4 separate regions of the Homo sapiens genome follow, and regions 1, 2 and 4 are each linked to region 3. The links are contacts of gene promoters, found by promoter capture Hi-C in human tissues and cell types (Jung and others, 2019). All regions are on one chromosome and are shown on one strand. Each heading gives the region's core, a stretch centred on a gene start or on the middle of the fragment in contact. The rest is flanking DNA. Distances are from core to core; before and after follow the strand shown. Region 1 holds the start of SLC5A5 (solute carrier family 5 member 5). Region 2 holds the start of NWD1 (NACHT and WD repeat domain containing 1). Region 3 holds the start of DDA1 (DET1 and DDB1 associated 1). Region 4 holds the start of JAK3 (Janus kinase 3).

What was found. The method cuts DNA at HindIII sites, captures the fragments that hold promoters and counts their contacts. A contact is called where the count stands out against the background at its distance.
Region 1: the fragment with the promoter of SLC5A5 here is called in contact with the fragment with the promoter of DDA1 in region 3 in 1 of the 25 tissues and cell types used here (mesenchymal stem cells).
Region 2: the fragment with the promoter of NWD1 here is called in contact with the fragment with the promoter of DDA1 in region 3 in 2 of the 25 tissues and cell types used here (dorsolateral prefrontal cortex and hippocampus).
Region 4: the fragment with the promoter of JAK3 here is called in contact with the fragment with the promoter of DDA1 in region 3 in 3 of the 25 tissues and cell types used here (H1 embryonic stem cells, mesendoderm cells and spleen).

The regions. Positions count from the first base shown.
Region 1 is chr19:17,868,659-17,874,376 of GRCh38, forward strand. It overlaps SLC5A5 (solute carrier family 5 member 5), which reads left to right and starts at 3,287. Exons shown (of 15, transcript NM_000453.3): 1 at 3,287-4,018; 2 at 5,480-5,545. The coding sequence starts at 3,662. RefSeq lists enhancers at 102-755, 756-1,409, 5,057-5,718 and a silencer at 5,622-5,718. The HindIII fragment of the contact is 15,663 bases long and covers 1,191-5,718 here.
Region 2 is chr19:16,715,186-16,721,204 of GRCh38, forward strand. It overlaps NWD1 (NACHT and WD repeat domain containing 1), which reads left to right and starts at 4,662. Exons shown (of 19, transcript NM_001007525.5): 1 at 4,662-5,108. The HindIII fragment of the contact is 25,691 bases long and covers 1-6,019 here.
Region 3 is chr19:17,305,991-17,312,691 of GRCh38, forward strand. It overlaps DDA1 (DET1 and DDB1 associated 1), which reads left to right and starts at 3,573. Exons shown (of 5, transcript NM_024050.6): 1 at 3,573-3,667. The coding sequence starts at 3,665. It overlaps MRPL34 (mitochondrial ribosomal protein L34), which reads left to right. Exons shown (of 2, transcript NM_023937.4): 2 at 176-853. The coding sequence ends at 389. RefSeq lists silencers at 136-195, 3,789-3,888 and enhancers at 2,876-3,437, 3,159-3,348, 3,438-4,001, 6,227-6,701. The HindIII fragment of the contact is 11,596 bases long and covers 56-6,701 here.
Region 4 is chr19:17,845,328-17,851,461 of GRCh38, forward strand. It overlaps JAK3 (Janus kinase 3), which reads right to left and starts at 2,655. Exons shown (of 24, transcript NM_000215.4): 1 at 2,619-2,655. The HindIII fragment of the contact is 13,300 bases long and covers 1-6,134 here.

The DNA of each region.
Region 1 (5,718 bases), core at 2,037-4,536, 560 kb after region 3:
CACTGCCACCACTCTCCCATTCCTGCACATTCTGCTCACATTGTCTGCCGCGGCCTTGGGCCCTTCCTAACTCACATCCTGGGGTCCTGCTGCCCGCTTCTGTCATTGGAATCACAGTCAAGGAAGGTGTGACCTGATTCTCCCCACTCTGCTGCTTTTCCTCTCCAGGCTCACAATTCCCTCCGCTAGGGCAGGAGATGGTCCTGCACACTCTGCAGGGGCCTTCACTCCAGGCCTCCTTAGGAATTCCAAAGTGCTTTCCAAATCCACCCCCCTCCCCCCACTCGGCAGCCACCCCACTCCCGCCACTTGGATATGACCCATTTTTCAGAATCTAGAAATCTCATCAGACTCCTCACCTGCTCCAAACTCTCCTACAGTTCCCCAGCACCCTCAGAACAAAATCCACACCCCTTCCGGAGGCCCAGAAGATACCCCGTGATTGTCTGTCTCTGCTCAACCTGTATCCAGGCTGGAATTCACTGGTGTGATCACTGCTCACTGCAGCCTTGACCTCCCGGGCTCTGGCGATCCTCCCACCTCAGCCTCCCAAAGTGCTGGGATTATAAGTGTGAGCCACAGTGCCCAGCTGAAATCAGTATTTATCTGCTGGTGAGGTCAGGGCCATCACCACCCTGGGGTGGGTCCACCTGGATCATGCTGTGTCCCCAGCACCTGCCGGAGGGCCCTGCACACAGTATGCACTCAATGAACCGGCCTCAGCCCAGGCCTCTGGCCGCAGCCTGGACCCCACGGTGGGAAGAAGAGAAGCTATGCCTTCCCAGAACTTCCCTGGAGAGAAGGGGTCCATTTACATGTATTTGCACAATTTGCATATGTTTACATTGGTCGGCAGGGCTTTGCAAGTAGGGGATCCCGCTCGGATCTCCCATTGATTGATTGATTGATTGATTGAGACAGTCTCGCTCTGTCGCCAGGCTGGAGTGCAGTGGCACGATCTCGGCTCACTGCAACCTCCGCCTCCCGGGTTCAAGCGATTCTCCTGCCTCAGTCTCCCGAGTAGCTGGGACTACAGGCGCGTGCCATCACGCCCGGCTAATTTTTGTATTTTTAGTAGAGACGGGGTTTCACCACGTTGGCCTGGATGGTCTCGATTTCCTGACCTCGTGATCCGCCCGCGTCGGCCCCCCAAAGTGCTAGGATTACAGGCGTGAGCCACCGCGCCCAGCCTTGATTTTTATTTATTTATTTGTTTATTTATTTATTTTTTGAGACGGAATCTCTCTCTGTCGCCCAGGCTGGAGTGAAGTGGCGCGATCTCGGCTCACTGCAACCTCCACCTCCCGGGCTCAAGCGATTCTCCCGCCTCAGCCTCCCAAGTAGCTGGGATTACAGGCGGCCGCCACCACGCCCGGCTAATTCTTGTATTTTTAGTAGAGACGGGGTTTCACCATGTTGGCCAGACTGGTCTTGAACGGATCTCAAGAGACCCGTCCGCCTCGGCCCCCCAAAGTGCTGGGATTACAGGAGTGAGACACCGCACCCGGCCGGATCTCCCCTTTTCCAACGGGGTTTCCAGGAGGATGCCTGACCAGGGTGGAAGGAGAAAGAACTAGGTGCCTAACCCACTCTCCTGGCGAGGGCAGGAGGTACGCTCCAGCCGGCAACAGGTGCCCGCGTAGCCGCCGCAGTGTCACAGCCCCGGGGGAGGGACAGGTCCACCCTGCACAGCAGAGAGGGAGCAAGAGGACTGTCCGGGGGTTACGTGGGGACGCGTTGAGAAACGCTGGACCCAGCTGGAGCGGCCAGGGCAGAGGGTAGGCCAGAGGAGGCCACCAGGGAGCAGCAGAGGCTGGCGAGAAGCGCTCAAAAGCCCTTTTTTTTTTTTTTTTTTTTTTTTTGGAGACGGGGTCTTGCTGTGCTGCCCAGGCTGGAGTGCTGTGCAGTTCTCGACCACAGCTCATTGCAGCCTCGAACTTCCACGCTCAAGCGATCCTCCCACTTCAGCCTCCTGAGTAGCTGGGATTACAGGCATGTGCCACCACGCCTCGCTAATATTTGTATTTTTCATACAGACAAGATCTCACTATGTTGCTCAGGGTAGTCTCGAATTCTGGGACTCAAATGATCCTCCCACTTCAGCCTCCCAAAGTGCTGGGATTACAGGCATAAGCCATCATGCCCGGCCTCTGACGCTGTTTCTTTCAACCCCCAGGATTTCAGATTCCACCAGCTTATGGAGAAGGGAACCAAGTTTGAGATGCGTGATTGCCCAGAAAGTTGGAGGCTGAGCTGAGACTTGAACCCAGAGACCAGAACCTCCAGAGGTCAAAGTCCTCCTGGGTCCCCCAGAGAAGGGCCCTGAGATGACAGCTCGTTGGTCCTCATGGAAGCGTGACCCCCCCAGTAGACTTTCTCCCACACCCAACCTTGGTTTCCTCATCTATATGATAGGGACAAGCCAGACTCTACCTCCCTGGTGGTCATGGTCTCCGCTTATTCGGGTTCATAACCTTAAAGGCCCCTCGCACCACCTCAGTGAGCCATTTATGCCTGGCACAGGGCCAACTCTCAGTGCATATCTGCAAAGGAACCAATGAATGAATGAATGAAGTGACAAATGAATAAAGGAATAAATGAATGAGGCACTTATCATGTACCAGGCTTTCGTTACCACGTCCCATTTATTCCTCTGAGGCAGGGTCTATTTTATCCTTGTTACAGATGGGGAAACTAAGGCCCAGGGAGGAGCAAAGTCTTCCCCAAGTATGTACCCACTCAGAACTTGAGCTCTGAATGTCTCCCACCCAGCTTAGCCCAAGAGCGGGGTTCAGTGATGCCCACCCCCTAAGGCTCTAGAGAAAGGGGGTAGGCCCACATGCCAGTTTGGGGGTGGTAAAGCCAGGTAAGTTTTCTTTATGGGTCCCCTGAAACCCTGAAAGTGAACCCCAGTCCTGCATGAAAGTGAGCTCCCCATAGCTCAAGGTATTCAAGCACAATACGGCTTTGAGTGCTGAAGCAGGCTGTGCAGGCTTGGATAGTGACATGCCCTCTCTGAGCCTCAATTTCCCCACCTGTCAACAGCAGACAGTGACAGCTGTGATCAGGGGATCACAGTGCATGGGGATGGGTGGGTGCATGGGGATGGAGGGGCATTTGGGAGCCCTCCCCGATACCACCCCCTGCAGCCACCCAGATAGCCTGTCCTGGCCTGTCTGTCCCAGTCCAGGGCTGAAAGGGTGCGGGTCCTGCCCGCCCCTAGGTCTGGAGGCGGAGTCGCGGTGACCCGGGAGCCCAATAAATCTGCAACCCACAATCACGAGCTGCTCCCGTAAGCCCCAAGGCGACCTCCAGCTGTCAGCGCTGAGCACAGCGCCCAGGGAGAGGGACAGACAGCCGGCTGCATGGGACAGCGGAACCCAGAGTGAGAGGGGAGGTGGCAGGACAGACAGACAGCAGGGGCGGACGCAGAGACAGACAGCGGGGACAGGGAGGCCGACACGGACATCGACAGCCCATAGATTCCTAACCCAGGGAGCCCCGGCCCCTCTCGCCGCTTCCCACCCCAGACGGAGCGGGGACAGGCTGCCGAGCATCCTCCCACCCGCCCTCCCCGTCCTGCCTCCTCGGCCCCTGCCAGCTTCCCCCGCTTGAGCACGCAGGGCGTCCGAGGACGCGCTGGGCCTCCGCACCCGCCCTCATGGAGGCCGTGGAGACCGGGGAACGGCCCACCTTCGGAGCCTGGGACTACGGGGTCTTTGCCCTCATGCTCCTGGTGTCCACTGGCATCGGGCTGTGGGTCGGGCTGGCTCGGGGCGGGCAGCGCAGCGCTGAGGACTTCTTCACCGGGGGCCGGCGCCTGGCGGCCCTGCCCGTGGGCCTGTCGCTGTCTGCCAGCTTCATGTCGGCCGTGCAGGTGCTGGGCGTGCCGTCGGAGGCCTATCGCTATGGCCTCAAGTTCCTCTGGATGTGCCTGGGCCAGCTTCTGAACTCGGTCCTCACCGCCCTGCTCTTCATGCCCGTCTTCTACCGCCTGGGCCTCACCAGCACCTACGAGGTACCGGACAGAGGCCCGGGGGTAGGACCTGCCCCACTGGCAGTGCTGGGACCCCGTGTGGGGGAGGCGCTGGGGCTTTGGGCCGCTGTACAGGAGGACGCGGATGGCACCTCGGTGCTTTAACGGAAGGGGCCCCTAGGCAGACACGTGGGGAGGGTTCTAGGAAGAGGCCCCAGGCGCCCGGCGAGGGGCAGGAAGGAGGAAGAGAGAGCCTGGCGTCCTGCTCCTTCGGTGGAAGCGCGCGCGGGGCGGGGCCCGGCTCGACCAGGTGTGTCCTCACGGGTGGACACACACCTGCCCCCCACCTGCCCGGGCGTGCAGACCCACGTGTGCGCGCTAGAGGGGACTGCTGACGGCTCCGGGGTTCGAAACCTGGCTTCACTGCTTTCTTGTATCTTGGGCAAGGGGCGTGCCTCTCTGTTTGGGTTTCCCAGCTGTCCAATGGGCGAATTACAGGACCTCCCTCCAGGGGAGAGGGTAAAGCGATTAAAATCGTGACCGGGGCCCGGTGCGGTGGCTCACGCCTGTAATCCCAGCACTTTGGGAGGCCAAAGCATGCAGATCACCTGAGGTCAGGAGTTCAAGACCAGCCTGGCCAACATGGCGAAACCCCGTCTCTACTAAAAATACAAAAATTAGCCGGATGTGGTGGTGGGCACCTGTAATCCCAGCTACTTGGGAGGCTAAGACAGGAGAATTGCTTGAACCCGGGAGGTTGCAGTGAGCCGATATCGCGTCACTGCACTCCAGCCTGGGCGACAGAGCGAGACTCTTGTCTCAAAGGAAAAAAAAATATTGTGGCAGGGCGCAGTGGCTCACGCCTGTAATCCCAGCACTTTGGGAGGCCGAGGTGGGTGGATCACGAGGTCAGGAGTTCAAGACCAGCCTGGCTAACATGGTGAAACCCCGTCTTTACTAAAAATACAAAAATTAGCCGGGCATGGTCGCGCGCGCCTGTAATCCCAGCTACTCAGGAGGCTGAGGCAGAAGAATTGCTTGAACCTGGGAGGCGGAGGTTGCAGTGAGCCGAGATCGTGCCAGTGCACCCTAGCCTGGGCGACAGAGCGAGACTCCGTCCCCCCTCCCCCCCAAAAAAATCGTGACAGGTATATCCTAGGCGGCCAACACCATTGGCCCGGGGCACTGTCTACACTGTGCGCTTGCGGGCCACGTCGGTGTCTGCTGAGCGGTGGCTGCTCCAGGAGCCCGCGCCCGTCAGGCGCAAGTGGGAGGGCGCGTGCACACGCATGGACCAGTCCTCCAGGTCCACGGGGTACGCACAGGCACGGGATGGCACCTGTGCACGGGTGTGTGCGTGCGGCGGGGCCCCCACGTGCAAGAATCTGGCGGGCGCGGTTGGCTTCCGGAGGGAGGGGCCCACCTAGAGAGCAGACCAGGGACCCGAGAGGCCTCGGCTCCTGGGTAAGGACTGTCCAGGTGACCTCGAGTCCCTCCTTGCAGTACCTGGAGATGCGCTTCAGCCGCGCAGTGCGGCTCTGCGGGACTTTGCAGTACATTGTAGCCACGGTGAGTGGCCTCGGCCCCGCCCTCCGCTCAGGGCCCCGAGAGCGTCAGCCTTCACTAGCCCGGCCCCCACCATTCAAGACCCCGCCCAGACCCCGCCCCCCATGCTCCCGTTCTGACCCCGCCCCCATCAGTCCCCTCCCACACCACAGCCGGCCTGACCCCGCCTGCACTCT
Region 2 (6,019 bases), core at 3,412-5,911, 590 kb before region 3:
GAAGACGACAAGGATGAACACTTTTGTGATGATCCACTTCCACTTCATCCATAGTAAATATGTTTTCTCTTCCTTTGAAGTTTGGACGGGCACAGTGGCTCACTCCTGTAATCCCAGCACTTTAGAGGCCAAGACGGGTGGATCACCTGAGGCCAGGAGTTCAAGACCAGCCTAGCCAACATGGCAAAACCCTGCCTCTACTAAAAATACAAAAATTAGCCAGGCGTGGTGGTGGGCGCCTGTAATCCCAGCTACTCAGAGGCTGAGGCAGGAGAATCGCTTGAACCCAGGAGGCAGAGGTTGCAGTGAGTTGAGGTCATGCCACTGCACTCCAGCCTGGGCAACAGAGTGAGACTCCATCTCAAATAATGAAACAAACAAACAAAAAACAAAACAAAAACAAAACACCAGAATTTTTTTAGTGACATTTGCTTTTCTCTAGCTTACTTATTGCAAGAATACAGTATATAATACATAGAATGTAGAAAATCAGTGTTCATCGACCATTTATGTCATCAATAAGGCTTTTGGTCAATAGTAGGTGTTACATGCAGTCAAAAGTTACATGCAGATTTTTGACTGTAGGGGTGAGCTTGGCACTCCTAACCCCTGTGTTGGTTCTAAGGTTGACTACACAGAAATCCCCTAGCCCTGGGCTCGTGGTTACTCAATGCATAAGGATAATCACGATTTTTTTTTTTTTTTTTAAAACAGGGTCTTGCTCTGTCACCCAGGCTGGAGTGCAGTGGTGCAGTCATAGCTCACTGCAGCCTCAACCTCTTGGGCTCAAGTGATCCTCCCACCTCAGCCTGCCCAGTAGCTGGGACTACAGGCATGCACCACCAAGTCTGGTGAATTTTTATTTTTTGTAGATATGGGATCTCACTATATTGTCCAGGCTGGTCTCGAACTCCTGGGCTCAAGCAATCCACCTGCCTCAGCCTCCCAAAATGCTGGGATTACAGGCGTCAGCCAACATTCCCAGCCACTATTTTTTTTTTTTTTTGAGACAGTCTTGCTCTGTCCCCCAGGCTGGAGTGCAGTGGTGTGATCTCAGCTCACTGCAACTTCCGCCTCCTGGGTTCGAGCAATTCTCCTGCTTCTGCCTCCCAAGTAGCTGGGATTACAGGCATGCACCACCACGCCTGGCTAATTTTTTTTTTTTTTTGTATTTTTAGTAGAGATGGGATTTCACCATGTTGGCCAGGCTGGTCTCAAACTCTGGGCCTCAAGTGATCATCCCGCCTGGGCCTCCCAAAGTGCTGGGAGTGTGCCCGGCCCCAGCCACTATTTTTTAAGAGTACAAAATTGAAGCATATTCTGATAGGGAATTTAAAACACTCACTAAAGTAGGCAGAATAGTATAATGAACCGCAGCCCACCCTAACCACCATCACCCCCTACTCAACCTCGCCAACCCCGCCCCCATCCCATTTGCCTTCCTGTCAGGTATTATTTTGAAGCAAATCTCAGCTATCTTATCATTCCATAAATATTTTGTTATATGTCTCTAAAACATACACACTCTTTTTTTTTTTTTTTTGAGACAGGGTCTCACTCTGTTGCCCAAGCTGGAGCACAGTGGCGTGATCACGACTCATTGCAGCCTCAACTTCCCAGGTTCAAGTGATCCTTCCACCTCAGAGTAGCAGGGACCACTGGCACATGCACCATGTCTAGTTAATTTTTTAATTTTTTGTAAAAATGGAGTCTCAATATGTTGGCCAGTCTGGTCTTGAACTCCTGAGCTTAAGTGATCCTCCTGCCTTGGCCTCCCAAACTGCTGGGATAACAGGCATGAGGCACTGCACCTGGCCCAGACTCTTTAAAAGCCTAACCAGTCTGGGCATGGTGGCTCATGCCTGTAATCCCAGCACTTTGGGAGGCCGAGGCGGGTGCATCACCTGAGGTCAGGAGTTCCAGACCAGCCTGGACAACATGGTGAAACCCCGTCTCTACTAAAAATACAAAATATTAGCCAGGTGTGGTGGCAGGTGCCTCTAATCCCAGCTACTCGGGAGGGTGAGACAGGAGAATTGCTTGAACGTGGGAGGCGGAGGTTGCAGTAAGCCAAGATCATGCCATTGCACTCCAGCCTGGATGACAAGAGCAAAACTGTCTCGAAAACAAAAACAAAAATAAAAACAAAAACCTCACCGCAATACCATTGTCACACTGCAAAAACTTTGCCAATAATTTTTTAATATCTGTAGATTCCAGTTTAGCCAATAACTGTGGAGTTTTGGAATCATATCCGAATTTGGCTGTTAGCTCACTTCCTTGCCAAGGAAACTTGGGAAATTGTTTAACTTCTTTGAAGCCTATTTTCTTTCTTCTTCTTTTTTTTTTTAAACGCAGTCTCACTTTGTCACCCAGGCTGGAGTGCAATGGCGTGATCTCGGCTCACTGCAACCTCCGCCTTCCGGGTTCATGCGATTCTCCTGCCTCAGCCTCTCGAGTAGCTGGGATTACAGGTGCTCACCACCACGCCCAGCTAATTTTTGTATTTTTAGTAGAGACAGGGTTTCATCACGTTGGTCTGGAAGCCTGTTTTCATCATCAATGAACTGGGATAGTAAATTGAAGCCCCCAGATTGCTTGGAGTATTGGAGACAGTATGTTTCCTAAAATTTCAGCCCCTAAAACTTCTTTTCTTTTCTTTTTCTTTTTTTGTTTTAAAGAGACAGGGTTTTGCTCTGTTGCCCAGGCTAGAGTGCAGTGAGGCAATCATATCTCACTGCAGCCTTGACTTTCTGGGCTCAAGTAATCCTCCCACCTCAACCTCCCGAGTAGTTGGGACTACAGGCACACACCACCACGCCCAGCTAATTTTTTGTTATTGTTGTTGTTGTAGAGATGAGGGTCTCACTATGTTGCCCAGGCTGGTCTTGAACTCCTGGCCTTGAGTGATCCTCCCACCTTGGCTTCCCCAGTAGCTGGGACTACAGGAGCATGCCACTGTGCCTGGCAGCACCTGAAACTTCTTTTTTTTTTTTTTTTGTGAGATGGAGTGTAGTGTGGCTCTGTCGTCCAGGCTGGAGTGCAATGGCGTAATCTCTGCTCACTGCAACCTCTGCCTCCCAGGTTTAAGTGATCCTCCTGCCTCAGCCTCCCAAGTAGCTGGGATTACAGGCACCTGCCACCATGCCTGGCTAATTTTTGTTTTTAGTAGAGATGGGGTCTCACCATATTGGCCAAGCTGGTCTCAAATTCCTGACCTCAGGTGATTTGCCCACCTCGGCCTCCCAAAGTGCTGGGATTACAGGCATGAGCCACCGCGCCTGACCAAGTATCTGAAACTTCTATCCCTGAAAATATAGTAACACTATTATTATTACTTTTTCTTTGAGATGGAGGCTTGCTCTGTCGCCCAGGCTGGAGTGCAGTGGCGCAATCTCGGCTCACTGCAAGCTCCACCTCCCAGGTTCATGCCATTCTCCTGCCTCAGCTTCCTGAGTAGCTGGGACTACAGGTGCAAACCACCACGCCCAGCTAATTTTTTGTTTTTTGTTTTTTGTTTTTTATGTAGAGACAGGGTTTCACCATGTTAGCCAGGATGGTCTTGATCTCCTGACCTCGTGATCTGCCTGCCTTGGCCTCCCAAAGTGCTGGGATTACTGGCGTGAGCCACCATGCCTGGGTGACTTGTGAGTTTTTGAGACAAAGTCTCGCTCTGTCACCCAGGCTGGAGTGCAGTGGTGCGATCTCGGCTCACTGCAAGCTCCACCTCCCGGGTTCATGCCATTCTCCTGCCTCAGCTTCCTGAGTAGCTGGGACTACAGGTGCAAACCACCACGCCCAGCTAATTTTTTGTTTTGTTTTGTTTTGTTTTTTTTGTAGAGACGGGGTTTCACCGTGTTAGCCAGGATGGTCTTGATCTCCTGACCTCGTGATCTGCCTGCCTTGGCCTCCCAAAGTGCTGGGATTACTAGCGTGAGCCACCATGCCCGGGTGATTTGTGAGTTTTTGAGACAAAGTCTTGCTCTGTCGCCCAGGCTGCAGTGCAGTGGCAGGATCTCGGCTCATTGCAACCTCCAACTCCCAGGTTCAAACAATTCTTGTGCCTCAGCCTCCCAAGTAGCTGGGATTACAGGCATGCGTCACCACGCCCAGCTAATTTTTCTATTTTTAGTAGAGATAGGGGTCTCACCATATTGGCCAGTCTGGTCTTGAATGCCTGACCTCAGGTGATCCGCCTGCCTCGGCCTCCCAAAGTGCTGGGATTACAGGCATGAGCCACCGTGCCCGGTCTTGGAGTTTTAATGGTAATTAATCATGGCTAACATCTCACGGGCCCTTCCTGTGATGTAGGTGTAGTGTTAGTCTCACTCTCTATATAAATGCTTTTCATTGTCTCACCAACACAGGAAGTTAGTGAGAAAATTCAAGTGCAGAGTAGTGAAGCGTCACAGGCAAGGGACTTCACCTTTCTGCATCTTGTTTTCTTCATCTGTGAAACAGGATCATAATGTCTGTCTCTTGGGGTAATAATGTGGACTGCTAATGCCAAATGCCAACCAACTGCACCTCCTAGACTGTCAGCAAATGGCATCTTTTACGAGGAGCCGTATCAGCCTGGCACACAATAGTTAACCACTAAGTCTGGGCTGAATGCCCGGCTAAGCTGGTGCCCTAGTGCAAACAATCGCTTTCATTATCCCAGTTGCTGGGAGAATTGGGCAAGGAGAGACCCATAAAATACCTAAGACGAAAGTTACTAGGATAGCCAGGGGCTTGTCTTCCGGGTGGCGCCGAGGCCAGGAAACTGTCCTCTCTAACCTATTTCCCCAGAGGAGTCTAAATTGGTCGTTCAACTACCAGCAAAGGCTAAAGAGAGGCTGGAGCCCCCAGGACAGCCAGAACGCTGACACTGCAAAGGGCCTCTGTCCTTACTGGGGAAGCCCAGTCCTGCTCAGCTGTCTTCTTCAGCAACAAACAGAAGTCCAGAAAGAGAAACAGTTGTGGAGGAAGCTGTTGTGATGATAATTTACTGAGCACCTACTATGTGCCAGGCACGCCAGCCTTACCAGACAAGATCCTTGGGCTCATGGAATTCACTTTCTCGTGGGACAGACAAACAATAACATGTAGAAACATATCAGCTGTTGGTGAGTACCATGCAGAAAATTAAAATAAGGCGATGGCATTGGGAGTGACTTAAGGGGTCACTACGCAATGGGATGGTCAGAGACAGCCTCTCAGGAGGAGGTAGCATTGAAGCTAAAATGTGAACAACATGAACAGATGCAGCATAGAGCACTAAAGTACAGGACGTGCAAAGGCCCTGAGGTTGAAATAAGCTAAATGCATTAGACTAGGGGGTTCTCGAGTAAGGGGAATTCTGCCCCCTAGGGGACATTGCAATGTCTAGGGAGACTTTTTTTTTTTTGAGACGGAGTCTCGCTCTGTCACTAGGCTGGAGTGCAGTGGCGTGATCTCAGTTACTGCAAGCTCTGCCTCCCAGGTTCACACCATTCTCCTGCCTCAGCCTCCTGAGTAGCTGGGACTACAGGTGTCCGCCACATGCCCGGCTAATTTTTTGTATTTTTAGTAGAGACGGGGTTTCACCGTGTTAGCCAGGATGGTCTCGATCTCCTGACCTCATGATCTGCCCTCCTCGGCTTCCCAAAGTGCTGGGATTACAGGCGTGAGCCACCGCACCTGGCCGAGACTTTTTCTTTTTGAGATGGAGCCTTGCTCTGTTGCCCAGGCTGGAGCGCAGTGGCACGATCTCGGCTCACTGCAACCTCTGCTTCCCGGGTTCAAGCGATTCTCCTGCCTCAGGCTTCCGAGTAGCTGGGATTACAGGTACATGCCACCGCGCCAGCTAATTTTTGTATTTTTAGTAGAGATGGGGTTTCGCCATGTTGGCCAGGCTGGTCTCGAACTCCTGGCCTCAAGTAATCTGCCTGTTTTGGCCTCTCAAAGTGCTGGGATTAGAGGTGTGAGCCACTGCACCCAGCCTAGGGATACTTTTTAATTGTGACGACTTTGGTGGTGGTGGTGGGGGTGTGCTGTT
Region 3 (6,701 bases), core at 2,323-4,822:
GGAATAAGGGCGGCTTCGGAGGCTGGCGCCACTCTTCACTGCCCGCGTGACCTGCCAGTGCCTTGCGCATTTTGCAGCCAGGCTCTGTCTCCGGGAGCCGAGGCTCAGAGAGGTTGAGCGCCAAGGTCACCCAGCGCCCCGTCTGACCTTTCTCGCCGTCCCTCTACCCACGCAGGTGGCTCCAGCCCCGGGCCTGGCTGGGGTTCCCAGACGCCTGGGGCCTCCCCACCCCGCAGCAGGCCCGGGGCAAGGCTCGCGGGAATGAGTATCAGCCGAGCAACATCAAACGCAAGAACAAGCACGGCTGGGTCCGGCGCCTGAGCACGCCGGCCGGCGTGCAGGTCATCCTTCGCCGAATGCTCAAGGGCCGCAAGTCGCTGAGCCATTGAGGATCGCGACGCAGTCGGCGGGACCCTCATGGAAGCATCGCCCTCGCCTCGGACCTTGCCTGGCGCTATTTTTGCAGGGAGCTGGGGAGCAGGAACGCCTCGGACCTGAGTGCTCTCCATATTGTGGGGTTGAAGTCTGGATGGGAGCTTGCCAAGTCCCTTTTTAGGCTTTTTAATTAGGAAGCATTTCGAACCTGCGCAACAGACCAAAGAACAGTACAAAGAACATCCGTGTACCCAGTACCCTGACTACCGACTACCTACAACCCGTCCCTGCCCCATCCTGAGTTCTTTTGAAGCTGATCTCAGGCATCGGATTATTTCTTCTGTAAATATTTCAGAATGTATCTCTCCAAGATGAGAGCTCATTAAAAGACAATTACAAAGCTTATCACATCCAAAAGAATTATCAATAATTTTGAAATATTATTAAACGTGTAATAAATGTTCAAAGTTCCACTTGCCTTATATGTGTCATAACTCTTTTTTTTTTTTGAGACAGTTTCCCTTTTGTTGCCCAGGTTGGAGTGCAATGGGGGGATCTCGGCTCATTAAAACCTCCGCCTTGCGGGTTCAAGCGATTCTCCTGCCTCACCCTCCCGAGTAGCTGGGATTACAGGCATGCGCCACCACGCCCGGCTAATTTTGTATTTTTAGTAGAGATGGGGTTTCTCCATGTTGGTCAGGCTGGTCTCGAGCTCCCGACCTCAGGTGATCCGCCCTCCTCTGCCTCCCAAAGTGCTGGGATTACAGGCATGAACCACTGCGCTCTGTCCCCCAGGCTGGAGTGCAGTGGCACGATCTCGGCTCACTGCAAACTCCCTCTCCTGGGTTCAAGCAATCTCCTGCCTCAGCCTCCCGAATAGCTGGGATTATAGGCGCCCACCACCACACCCGGCTAATTTTTGTATTTTTAGTAGAGACGGGGTTTCAACCATGTTGGCCAGGCTGGTCTCGAACTCCTGACCTCAGGTGATCTGCCTGCCTCGGCCTCCCAAAGTGCTGGGATTACAGGTGTGAGCCGTCATGCCCAGCCTGTGTCATAAATTTTATAGGTCTGGGAAGACTGGTGGAAAACTGTGTGTGTGTGCGGGGGGGTGTTTGTTTTTGAAACAGGGTCTCGCTCTGTCACCCAGGCTGGAGTGCAGTTGTCGGATCCCTGCTTACTGCAACCTCTGCCTCCTGGGTTCAAGCAATTCTGGTGCCTCAGCCTCCCAAGTAGCTGGGATTACAGGTGCATGCCACCACGCCCAGCTAATTTATGTATTTTTAGTAGAGGGGAGTTTCACCATGTTGACCAGGCTGGTCTTGAACTCCAGCCCATAAGGAGTTTGAATCTTCCACTTGTCCCTTGGGGATGTTTGATTTTGAGCAAGAATTTAACACTGTGAGGTGCATTTGTCGCCTATAAAATGCAGTGCTGGTTTCTCCTCTGCTCTGTTGCTGTTGGAGTAATAATACTTAGTAGCTTCCACTTAGCAACTTCACTGTGCAATTGCTGTGTGCTGGGTGCCCATTCTTTGCCCTGGAAGTCAGGAAGGCAGTTTGGACACAGAGGTGTCAGGGCTGGGAGGGGGATTGTGAGGGCTGTAGGACTTCAGGGAAGGTACCTGACTTGCCTTTTTGAAGAATGCAGTCAGGGAAGTCTTGGAGGAAATGGCAAGGTCTGGGAGAGCCCAGACATAGAAGGAATTGGTTAGAGGTGAGGACACAGGTGGGCAATGAAGACCGCAGGTGCCCATAAATGGGGCCAAGGAGGTGGGATTGAATACTAGGGAGTTACGGGAGGTGGTTGAGCAAGACGGTGTCGAGGAGGAGCTAGGGAGTGTTATGGTTCTTATCTTCTAGGGCTGCTTTAAAAACGTAATAAACACAAGAAGATGCCGGCACGATGGCTCCCAGAACTTTGGGAAGCCAAGTCTGGAGGATTGCTTGAGGCCAGAAGTTCGAGACCAGCTTGGGAAACATAGCAAGACCCCTGTGTCTTTTTTTTTTTTTTCTTTTGAGAGGGAGTTTAGCTCTTGTTGCCCAGACTGGACTGTAGTGGCTTAATCTCGGCTGACTGACACCTCCGCCTTCTGGTTTTAAGCGATTCTCCTGCCTCAGCCTCTTGAGTAGCTGGGATGACAGGCGCCCGCCACCACGCCCGGCTAATTTTTGTATTTTAGTAGAGATGGGGTTTCACCATGTTGGCCAGGCTGGTCTCAAACTCCTGACCTCGTGATCCGCCCGCCTCGGCTTCCCAAAGTGCTGGGATTGCTGGGATTACAGGCGTGAGCCACCGTGCCCCGCCTTTTTTTTTTTGAGACAGAGTCTCCCTCTGTCCGCCAGGCTGGAGTGCAGTGGCGCGATCTCAGCTCACTGCAAGATCCGCCTCACTCACGGTTCACGCCGTTGTCCTGCTTCGGCCTCCGGAGTAGCTGGGACTACAGGCGTCCGCCACCACGCCCGGCTAATTTTTTGTATTTTTAGTAGAGACGTGGTTTCACCGTGTTAGCCAGGACGGTCTCGATCTCCTGACCTCGTGATCCACCCGCGTCGGCCTCCCAAAGTGCTGGGATTACAGGCGTGAGCCACTGCGCCCGGCTGGCTTTTTTTTTTTTTTTTTGAGACTGATTTTCGCTCTTGTTGCCCAGGCTGGAGTGCAATGGCACGATCTTGGCTCACTGCAACCTCCGCCTCCCGGGTTCAAGTGATTCTCCTGCCTCAGCCTCCCTACTAGCTGGAATTACAGGCGCAGAGATGGGGTTTCACCATGCTGGCCAGGCTGGTCTCGAACTGCTGACCTCAGGCGATCTACCCGCCTCGGCCTCCCAAAGTGCTAAGATTACAGGAGTGAGCCACCGCACCCGGCCGAACCTCGCATCTTAAAAACACACAGACACACAAAAGCTCTAGAGAGCCTCGCGGAGCTGTAAACTACAGCTCCCAAGAGACTTCGCGGCCGAGGCCTCCGCCCACTTCCGGATCTCACTTTCATTGCTTCCAAGTACCGGGAGGTGCTTTGCTTCTTCAACCGAACTTGACCACAATGGGAGGAGGCGTGGCAACCAATGGGCGCATGAGTTAGCTGGATGCGGCCAATGGAAGCGTGCAAAGCGCTCCTATGTGGGGGCGGGGCTAGACTGCACACCAATGACAGGGAGGTGGTGGCGCCATCAGTGTGGGCTGTGCCGTGGCTGGAAGTTACTGTGAGGCGGCGGCTAAGAAGGCGGCTCTGGTGGCGGCGGTGGAGGCTGAGGCGGCGGCCGAGGCGGCGACGGAGGAAACAGAAGATGGTGAGGATGGCCTCCAGGCCCCCACTCCCCCTCTGCTAGACAAAATGGCGCTGTGGTCCCACCCACCTCTAGTATCCCCCTAGGCCCCTCTCCGTTCTGCCCGGTCCCCTCAGGTCCGGCCCGCCCCTCCCACTCACCTGTGACCTTCGACCCCCGGACCCTACCGAGAGCTTCCTGCTGATCCCACTGCCACTCCTTCTCCGACCCCTGACCCCATCCAGGATACCAAGCCCTGACAACTCATTCATTTCCGGGTTGCGGCTCCCCCCGGAAATCGTCTGGGGTGGGGATGGGGTCCCGTAAGACCCCCTGGTCTGGCCTCGTTCTCAGCACGCCGGACCTGGATCTCTTCAGTTCAGGAGAATTTGGGAGGCCGGCCTGGGCCCCGGGGCGGGGGAGGGGGCTTGGCACCGCGATATGCAGGGCTTTGTCGCCAAAGGAAGTGCGACATCGCCGATTGTCCCGGTTCCCCGGGCCCTGACCCCACCTCCACCATTCTGGGCCCTTACCCGCCTCTAAGAATGAAAAACTTTTATCTCCGATCCGCATGGATTGTCCCTGTGAAATGAGGGTAGCAGTAGTCTGAACCTCTTAGGGTGGTGACAATTTAGGTAACTGACGTCGTAAAGGACTCAGGATAGTGAATGCTCAACAGATGAGCTGGGTGACTCGAGGCCAGTGACGTTCTCTTCTAGCTGTCCCCTCATTATGAAGTGTGGATCGTCCCCACCTGGCTGTTGGAAGGTTGAAATTCCTTCAGGGTTCCTCAGTCATCCTGGAATTTGGGTCTGGTGGTTCTTCGGGGTTCAGTCTCCCCACCTGAAAAGTGGGATGGTGACCCACCCTCAGAGTGGAACTAAAGCCTCTCCACAACCCCCATTAGTTGGCATCCTGAGGGCTGGGAAGGGTGATGGGAAGCTTGGTCAAGATACCTCAAGTCTCCTTTGTCCCCTGACCCAGAGTCCCAGCCCACAATCCACAGTCCTTGGGATGTGGTGGGGATGAAAGGAAGACTCCCTTTCAGGAAGGAAATGGGAAGGTGGGTTCCTAGTGTGCGGGTCCCCAAGCCTGGGAGTTGTCCTTGATACCTTGGTACAGTCTCATCCCTACAGCCAATCATAAGTGGATTAGATTGTCTCTGCCTTCTGAACACACCTGAATTCATCCATGGCTTCATGCCCTGTTGCAGGTACTGCCACTTCCCACCTGCATACCTGTCCCAGCTTCTTCCCTGGTCTCCTAGCCTTGCTCTCACCCCTTTGGCAGTTCATAATTCACCTGAACCAGAAGGAACTTTTTTTTTGGAGTCAGGGTCTCACTCTGGCGCCCAGACTGGAGGCTCAAGAGATCCCCACACCAGGCTCATTTTTGTACTTTTTGGAGAGATGGGGATTCCCTATGTTGCCCAGGCTGGTCTCAAACTCCTGGGCTCAAGTGATCCTGCCTCAGCCTCCCAAAGTGCTGGTATTACAGGTGTGAGGCACTGCATGGGGCCTGAGAAGGAGGTTGTTTTTTTTTTTTCTTTTGAGATGGAGTCTTGCTCTGTCGCCCAGGCTGGAGTGCAGTGGCATGATCTCGGCTCACTGGAACCTCCGCCTCCTGGGTTCAAGCCATTCTCCTGCCTCAGCCTCCCAAGTAGGTGGGACCCACCACCATGCCCGGCTAATTTTTGTATTTCTAGTAGAGACAGGTTTTCACCATATTGGCCAGGCTGGTCTTGAACTCCTGACCTTGTGATCCACCCGCTTCGGACTCCCAAAGTGCTGGGAGTACAGGTGTGAGCCACTGCGCCCGGCCAGAAGGAGCTTTTAAAGATGTGCATCAAATGATACCACTTTCTAGCCTATAAAATGCTCCAGGAACCCTGGCGGCTCCCCTCCTCACCCTGAGGCCCCTGGCCACCTCTATGACCTTATCTCCACTCTCTTCTCCACTCTGTCTGTGAGCTTCAGCCACCCTGGCCTTGTTTTCACTTCCTCACACTCCAGGTTCCTGCTACCCCAGGGCCTTTACACCTGCTGCTCTTTCTGCTCGGAACACTCTTCCTCCTGTGATCGAGGTCATTCCTGACTTTGGGGGGCCCCCAGTTCTCTGCTATTAGTGTACTGCTTCTCTTTCTCATCTCTTTGTTGGGTCTCTGGCAGGCTACCTGCAGTGGGACTGGCACACAGGTGTCCAGTGCGTGTCTGCTGAGGCACCTGTGAGGGCCCAGCCGTGGCTGGCATTTGTCTGGAATGAGGCCTCCCCCACCCCCTGCCCCCATGTCTCGAGGCCTTGTTTTCCAGCTTAGCATGACAGGAAGGCTGCACGTACCCTGCCTTCATTCATTTGTCCAACGCAGACATGTTGATCCTAAAGGCTGCCCCTGAGGGAGCTCTGTGCAAAGCATTCCCCTTGTTGTCTTATGACTCAGAGTAACCCTGGGAGGTGGCCCTGTTGGAATGCGTCTCTTCACAGGGAGGCCCAGAGGCTGGGAAGTCCCTCGTCCCAGGTCACACAACCAGGGACGGGCTAAGCCAGGATTGAGAGCAGAATGCCCGGAGTACCTGCACCTCTCGCCACTCAGCCACCGGGCCCTGTGTGAGCCCGGCCAGGGTTCAGTCAGCCCTGTCCTGTCCTCTTCCCTTGGGGAGGTACCAGTCCAGCCAGGGAGGTGGACATGTAAGCAGATGACCTCGCCGGGGTGTGAGGGAGGCTCTGGGAGAGGCTCCCGAAGTGTCGGGGGAACAAAGGGGCCAGGGAGGGTGTTGGAGCTGGTGGGGAGGTTAGCAGGTATTTGCCACATGGAGGCATGAGGGGCATTCCTAGAGGGTGTGTGTGGCAGAGGGTGTGTATGATGGGAGTCCAGCAGGGGCAAGCTGGGCCAGGGCTGCGAAGGGGGACAGGGACCCCTCCTCACCCTTCAGGTCTCAGTGCCTGCATCCCTGCGTCTGGGCAGCCCTCCTTTATCCCCTAAATGGGCCAGAGCTCTGCCTTGCACCTCACACTGCGCCCTCGAGGCACCCTGTCCTGCAGCCGCTTCCTGTGCACTGTG
Region 4 (6,134 bases), core at 1,405-3,904, 540 kb after region 3:
CAGCTAATTTTCTTGTATTTTTAGTAGAGATGGGGTTTCACTGATCTCAAACTCCTGGCCTCAAGTGATCAGCCTGCCTCAGCCTCCCAAAATGCTGGATTACATGTGTGAGCCACCGCGCCTGGCCGAGACCAGGAGTTTGAAACCAGACTGGGCAATATAGTGAGACCTCCTCTCAAAAAGAAAAAAAAGCCTTGTAATCCCAGCACTTTGACAGGCCGAGGCAGGTGGATCACTTGAGGCTAGGATTTTGAGACCTCATCTCTAAAAAATTAGCAGGGCATGGTGGCACACCCCCATAGTCCTAGCTACTTGGGAGGCTGAGACAGGAGGATGCCTTCAGCTCTGCAAGTTGAGGCTGCATTGAGCTATGATCACACCACTGCACTCCAGCCTGGGCGACAGAGCAAGACCTTATCTCTAGAAAAAAAACACAATACAAAAACTATGATCCAAAATAATGCCCTGTGGCTGGGGTGGGGCGGCATTAATGAGGGTTTTTTTGTTTTTGTTTTGAGACAGAGTCTAGCTCTGTCATCCAGGCTGGAGTGCAGTGGCACAATCTCGGCTTACTCTGCATCCTGGGTTCAAGTGATTCTCCTGCCTCAGCCTCCCAAGTAGCTGGGATTACAGGGGCACGCCACCATGCCCGGCTAATTTTTGTATTTTTGGTAGAGACGGGGTTTCACCATGTTGGCGAGGCTGGTCTGGAACTCCTGACCTCGAGTGATCCTCCTGCCTCGGACTCCCAAAGTGCTGGGATTACCGGCGTGAGAAACTGCGCCTGGCCTAATGAGGTTTAAGACAATCAGAGGACTAGGACCCCTAGGACTCAGCTTTCGCAGCTGTGAAATGGGCTGACTCCCCAGCATCCTCATTGAGGTGGTCTGCTGAGCGCAATCCAGGCCTAAAGTGTCAACTCAATTAATGTGCATTAATTTGTATATTTCTTGATGATGTGCCGGTAAGCGATCAACAAACGCCTGTTAAACCAAACAGGAAGGGCAATTGGCACAGCGGTGTGGTGGTTACTGTGGGAAGGGAAGTCTTGTGGGGGAAAGAACCTTACCAAAGGGACACTTTGATGTCACCGATGCCCAGACCAAGAATGAGCACATTCCTAGTCCCGGGAACCTTGGAGGAGCCCCATCTCTCCCACAGAGAGATTGATGTCTAGTTTTGCCCTTTATAGAAATAAAATCACACACCATAGCCTCTCTATCGTCCCCTCAACATCAGCCAATCAAGTTTTTTGGTTTGTTTGTTTGTTTTTTTGAGACGGAGTCTCGCACTGTCACCCAGGCTGGAGTGCAGTCGCACGATCTTGGCTCACTGTAGCCTCTGCCTCCTGGGTTCAAGCGATTCTCATGCCTCAGCTTCCCAAGTGGCTGGGATTACAGGCGCGCACCACAGCGCCCAGCTAATTTTTGTATTTTTAGTAGAGACGGAGTTTCACCATGTTGGCCAGGCTGGTCTCAAACTCCTGGCCTCAGGTGATTCGCCTGCCTTGGCCTCCCAAAGTGCTGTGATTACACACGTGAGCCACATTGCCCAGCCTTTTTATTTATTTATTTATTTTGTAGGGGGGAGGACGGATTCTTGTTCTGTCTCCCAGGCTGGAGTGCAGTGGCATGATCTCGGCTCACTGCAAACTCCACCTCCCAGGTTCAAGCGATTCTCCTGCCTCAGCCTCCTGAGTAGCTGGAATTACAGGCACCCGCCACCAAACCTGGCTAATTTTTGTGTTTTTAGTAGAGATAGGGTTTCACCATGTTGACCAGGCTGATCTCGAACTCCTGACCTCCAGTGATCCGCTGGCCTCAGCCTCCCAAAGTGTTGGGATTAAAGGCATGAGCCACTGTGCCCAGCCCCAGTCGAGTTTAAAATAAGGCTTCAGTGGCAGTGGCGCCCCACTGCAATCCCAGCTACTCAGGGGGCTGAGGCAGCAGGATAGCTTGAGGCCAGGGGTTAGAGACCTGCCTGAACAACATAGCAAGACTCCCATCTCCAAAACAACAAAAAAATCTTAACAGAATATTATTATTCTGTAATACTGTAACAAAAAAAAATGAAAAGTCAGAGGTGATGTTTGGTCCCAGAAAACGCCATAGTTTTTTTGGTTTTTTAAAAATGTTTGTAGAAATGGAGGTCTGGCTATGTTGCCCAGGCTGGCCTTGAACTCCTGGCCTCAAGCTATCCTCCCGCCTCGGCATCCCCTGTTTATAATCCTCAACGTTCTGCATCCTGGTATGGTCGGGTACCCTGTGTCTGGACCGGGAAGGCCTGGAGGGTAGGGGCTGGGAACTCCGCCCCCCAATCCCTCCTTCCCAATCCCTCCTCCCCACCCCCAACCCCGCAGCCCCCGTCGCGCATGCGCAATGACTCCTCCAGGTCCGCAAGGCAGGCATCTCCCGGCCTTAGTCAAAGCCGAAGCCCAGAGAAGCGAGCGATCGGAGGATGCGAGTCTCGGCTCACGTCTGCCTCGCAGCTTTCCTCCGAGGCCTGGAAGGCGAGCTAGCCTTTGCCCTGGCAGCACCCTGCCCCAGCCCAGCCATCCCCCGCCACCACCATCCTCCCCCAGTGTCTGGGCCGAGCCCTGCGGCATCGCCAGCTCTTACCTAGCGGGCAGGGACCCTGGACTTTCGAAGGGCGGGCAGAGCCGGGAGGCAGCGAGAGGAAAGTCCCACTCGGCTCCTTCCTGTGTGGGCCCCTTGGTTTCCTGAGCCACTGTCATTTACCGAAAGTCAGGGCCCTGCGGGAGCTGGGGGCGGGGAGGCGGGCAAGGAGGGGCAGAAAGTTCCGGAAGCCTCTGCATCAGCCGCCCCGTTCAGACAGGCTGCTGGAGACCCCTAAGCCAAAGGAACTGATGATAGCACAGAGAAGGGTCTGGGTCACACCAGGGGCTCAGCCGACTCTAGACCCACTTGTTAAGTGGGGCTCTGGCCCGGCCCTTATTGCCTCAGTTTACCCATCTGTAGCATGTGTGAGTTGGGCACCCAGTGGAACTAATTTTGCACCCAGGGAAGGAAACCTGGCTGGATTTGCCCAGGAGGGAAGCAGGGAAGTTGCCCCAGAGGAAGGTCAAGTTCTTCTTTGAGGTATTTCTCCCTTAAGACTCAGGGAGACGCTGGGCGCAGTGGCTCACGCCTGTCATCCCAGCACTTTGGGAGACTGAGGCGGGCGATTACTTGAGGTCAGGAGTTTGAGACCAGCCTAGCCAACATGGCGAAACTCCGTCTCTACTAAAAATACAAAAATTAGCCAGGCGTGGTGGCCTGTAATCGCAGCACTTTGGGAGGCTGAGGCGGGCGGATCACTTGAAGTCAGGAGTTTGAGACCAGCCTGGCCAACATGATGAAACCCTGTCTCTACTAAAAACAGGAAAATTAGCCAGGCCTGGTGATGCCTGTAATCCTAGCTACTCAGGAGGCTGAGGTGGGAGGATTGCTTGAATCTAGGAGGCGGATGTTACAGTGAGACGAGATGGCGCCACTGCACTCCAGCCTGGCAACAGAGCGGGACTTCGTTTAAAAAAAAAAGAAAAGACTCAGGGAGAGATAATGACCCATTTCTGCCTGTGGTGCCCTGGGCCCAGCCCTAAAAAACCAGGTGGATCCGGCCTGGCCTCTTGGAACTTGTGATCTGGCGCTGAGACAATGAGCAAATGAAGGAGCCAAATCATCGCAGACAACAAAGAAAGCCAGGGTGTCAGGACAGGCACAGACTGGAACTTGGACCCGAGGCAGGACAGGGAGCTGGCCAGGGAAAGGGTGCTCCAGGAGGAGGGCACAGGATGGGCAAAGACCTTGAGAGGGCAGTGATCTTAGCAGCTTGAAGAGCAGTCAGGAGGCCAGGGGCAGGGGTGAGATGAGGGGGAAGGGGACTGCAGGGCGGTCAACAGGGGCAAGATCGTGGGGGGACAGGGGGATCAGGGTCTTTGGGAGAAGGGTGGGTTTTGCCTGGAGCATAATCTGGAGCCACAGGAGAGTTGGAAGTAGGAGCTGTTATAAATAGAAGAGGCAGAAGGCCCGGGCAGCATCCAAATGCAGAGACTTGGGCCAGTGTTCTTAGGATAATAGGATCAGAGCCCCGGAAGTAGAGCTTCAGGAATAGACTGACGAAGTGGTGACCGGGTACAGTGGCTCACATCTGTAATTCCAGCACTTTGGAAGGCCCAGGTGGGAAGATTGCTTGAGCCTAGGAGTTCGAGACCAGCCTGGCCAACATGGTGAAACCCCATCTCTACTAAAAATATAAAAATTAGCTGGGCGTGGTGGCATGTGCCTGTAATCCCAGCTACTTGGGAGGCTGAGGCAGGAGAATCACTGGAACCCAGGAGGCAGGCGGAGGTTGTAGTGAGCTGAGATTGTGCCACCGCACTCCAGCCTGGGCGACGGAGCAATACTCTGTCTCAAAAAAAAAAAAAGGAATAGATTTAAGAAGTTGTGGCCAAGAACAGTGGCTCACACCTGTAATCTCAGCACTTTGGGAGGCTCAGGCAGGAGGATGGCTTGAGCCCAGGTGTTCGAGACCAGCCTGGGCAACATGGTGAAACCCTGTCTCTACAAAAAATACAACAACAACAAAATAATAAGCTGGATGTGGTGGCATGTGCCTGTAGTCCCAGCTACTAGGGGAGGCTGAGGTGGGAGGATCACCTGAGCCCAGGAAGTTGAGGCTGCAGTTAGCTGTGGTCATGCCACTGCACTCCAGCCTGGGCAATGGGAGTGAGATCCCGTCTCAAAAAAAAAAAAAAAAAGACTTTTCATCTCTGTATCACCATCACAAGTCTTAACACAAAATGGTTTGGTAAGTATTTTGTTGATCTTAACTGTTCAATCAGCCAGAGGCTTATTGGACACAGCCTGTGTGCAGGGAATCGGGGACAATGCAGACCCAATCCCTGTCCAGGGGAGCTGACAGTCCAGCAGGGGAGATGGCAATAAACAAGCTATTGCCCAATAATTATATCAGTTGCCCCTGGGACCGGTCTGCTAAGAGAGATGACTGGATCTGGGAGGGCTTCCTGGAGGAGGTGGCTTTGATTCTGAAATCCAACAACAAGTGGGACTAGCCAGAGAGTGACCTGAGAATGTGGGAGTGTGGGCAGTTCTGGCAGGCAGAACAGCCCAGGCAAAGGCCTGGAGGCTTCACGAATTCACAGTGTTCCTGAGAAGAGCAGGATGTCAGGGACACGGGGGGCTGAGACTCATTTGATGGCGTGGGTAGGGCCGCGTGGGTCAAGGGAAAGAGATATAGATTATGTCCTCAGCTTAGTGGAGCTTAGTGGAGCCACAGCTGACCTGCGGCAGGAAGTGCCAAGCAGAAGCTTAGTTGTAGTGTTTTCTTTCACTTCCTGGGTGGCTTCAGCAGACGGGAATGCAACCTTATGTTCTCATCCTTGGCCTGAGGCTGAAGCCTCTGCTTTCCGGAAGTACAGTGAGTTTCTGGGTCTCTGCTACCTCCAGTGTGATGGTTTCTGCAATATTTTGAGAATAAGTAAGAGGAGATTGGGGTGAGGACCAAAGTGGTACCTTCAGCCCCAGAGAAGGGCATGTGAAGGCTCTAAAAGGAAGTTCTGGCCGGGCGCGGTGGCTCACGCCTATAATCCCAGCACTTTGGGAGGCCGAGGCGGGCGGATCGCCTGAGGTTAGGAGTTCGAGACCGGCCTTGCCAACCTGGTGAAACCCCATCTCTACTAAAAATACAAAACGCAGCTGGGTGTGGTGGCGGGCGCCTGCAGTCCCAGCTACTCAGGAGGCTGAGGCAAGAGAATCACTTGAACCTGGGAGGCGGAGGTTGCAGTGAGCCGAGATCGCACAACTGCACTCCAGCCTGGGCGACACAGCAAGACTCCGTATCAAAAAATAAATAAATAAATAAATAATTTTTTTTAAAAAAAGGAAGTTCTGGGGACAGAACCCAGAACTTGCCCGAGAAAAATGGGGCACGTCAGTGATGCAAACACCCAGATTTTTCTGCTGACAAGAAGTCCATAAATACAATCAAAGAATAAAATACAATCAAAGTGTAACTGGAAACAAAATTGAACTCATGGATAAAATATCCTCGTTATATAAGTAACATCTAGAAAGCAGTAAGAAAATGCCAACCAGTTAGGTGGATATGAATCC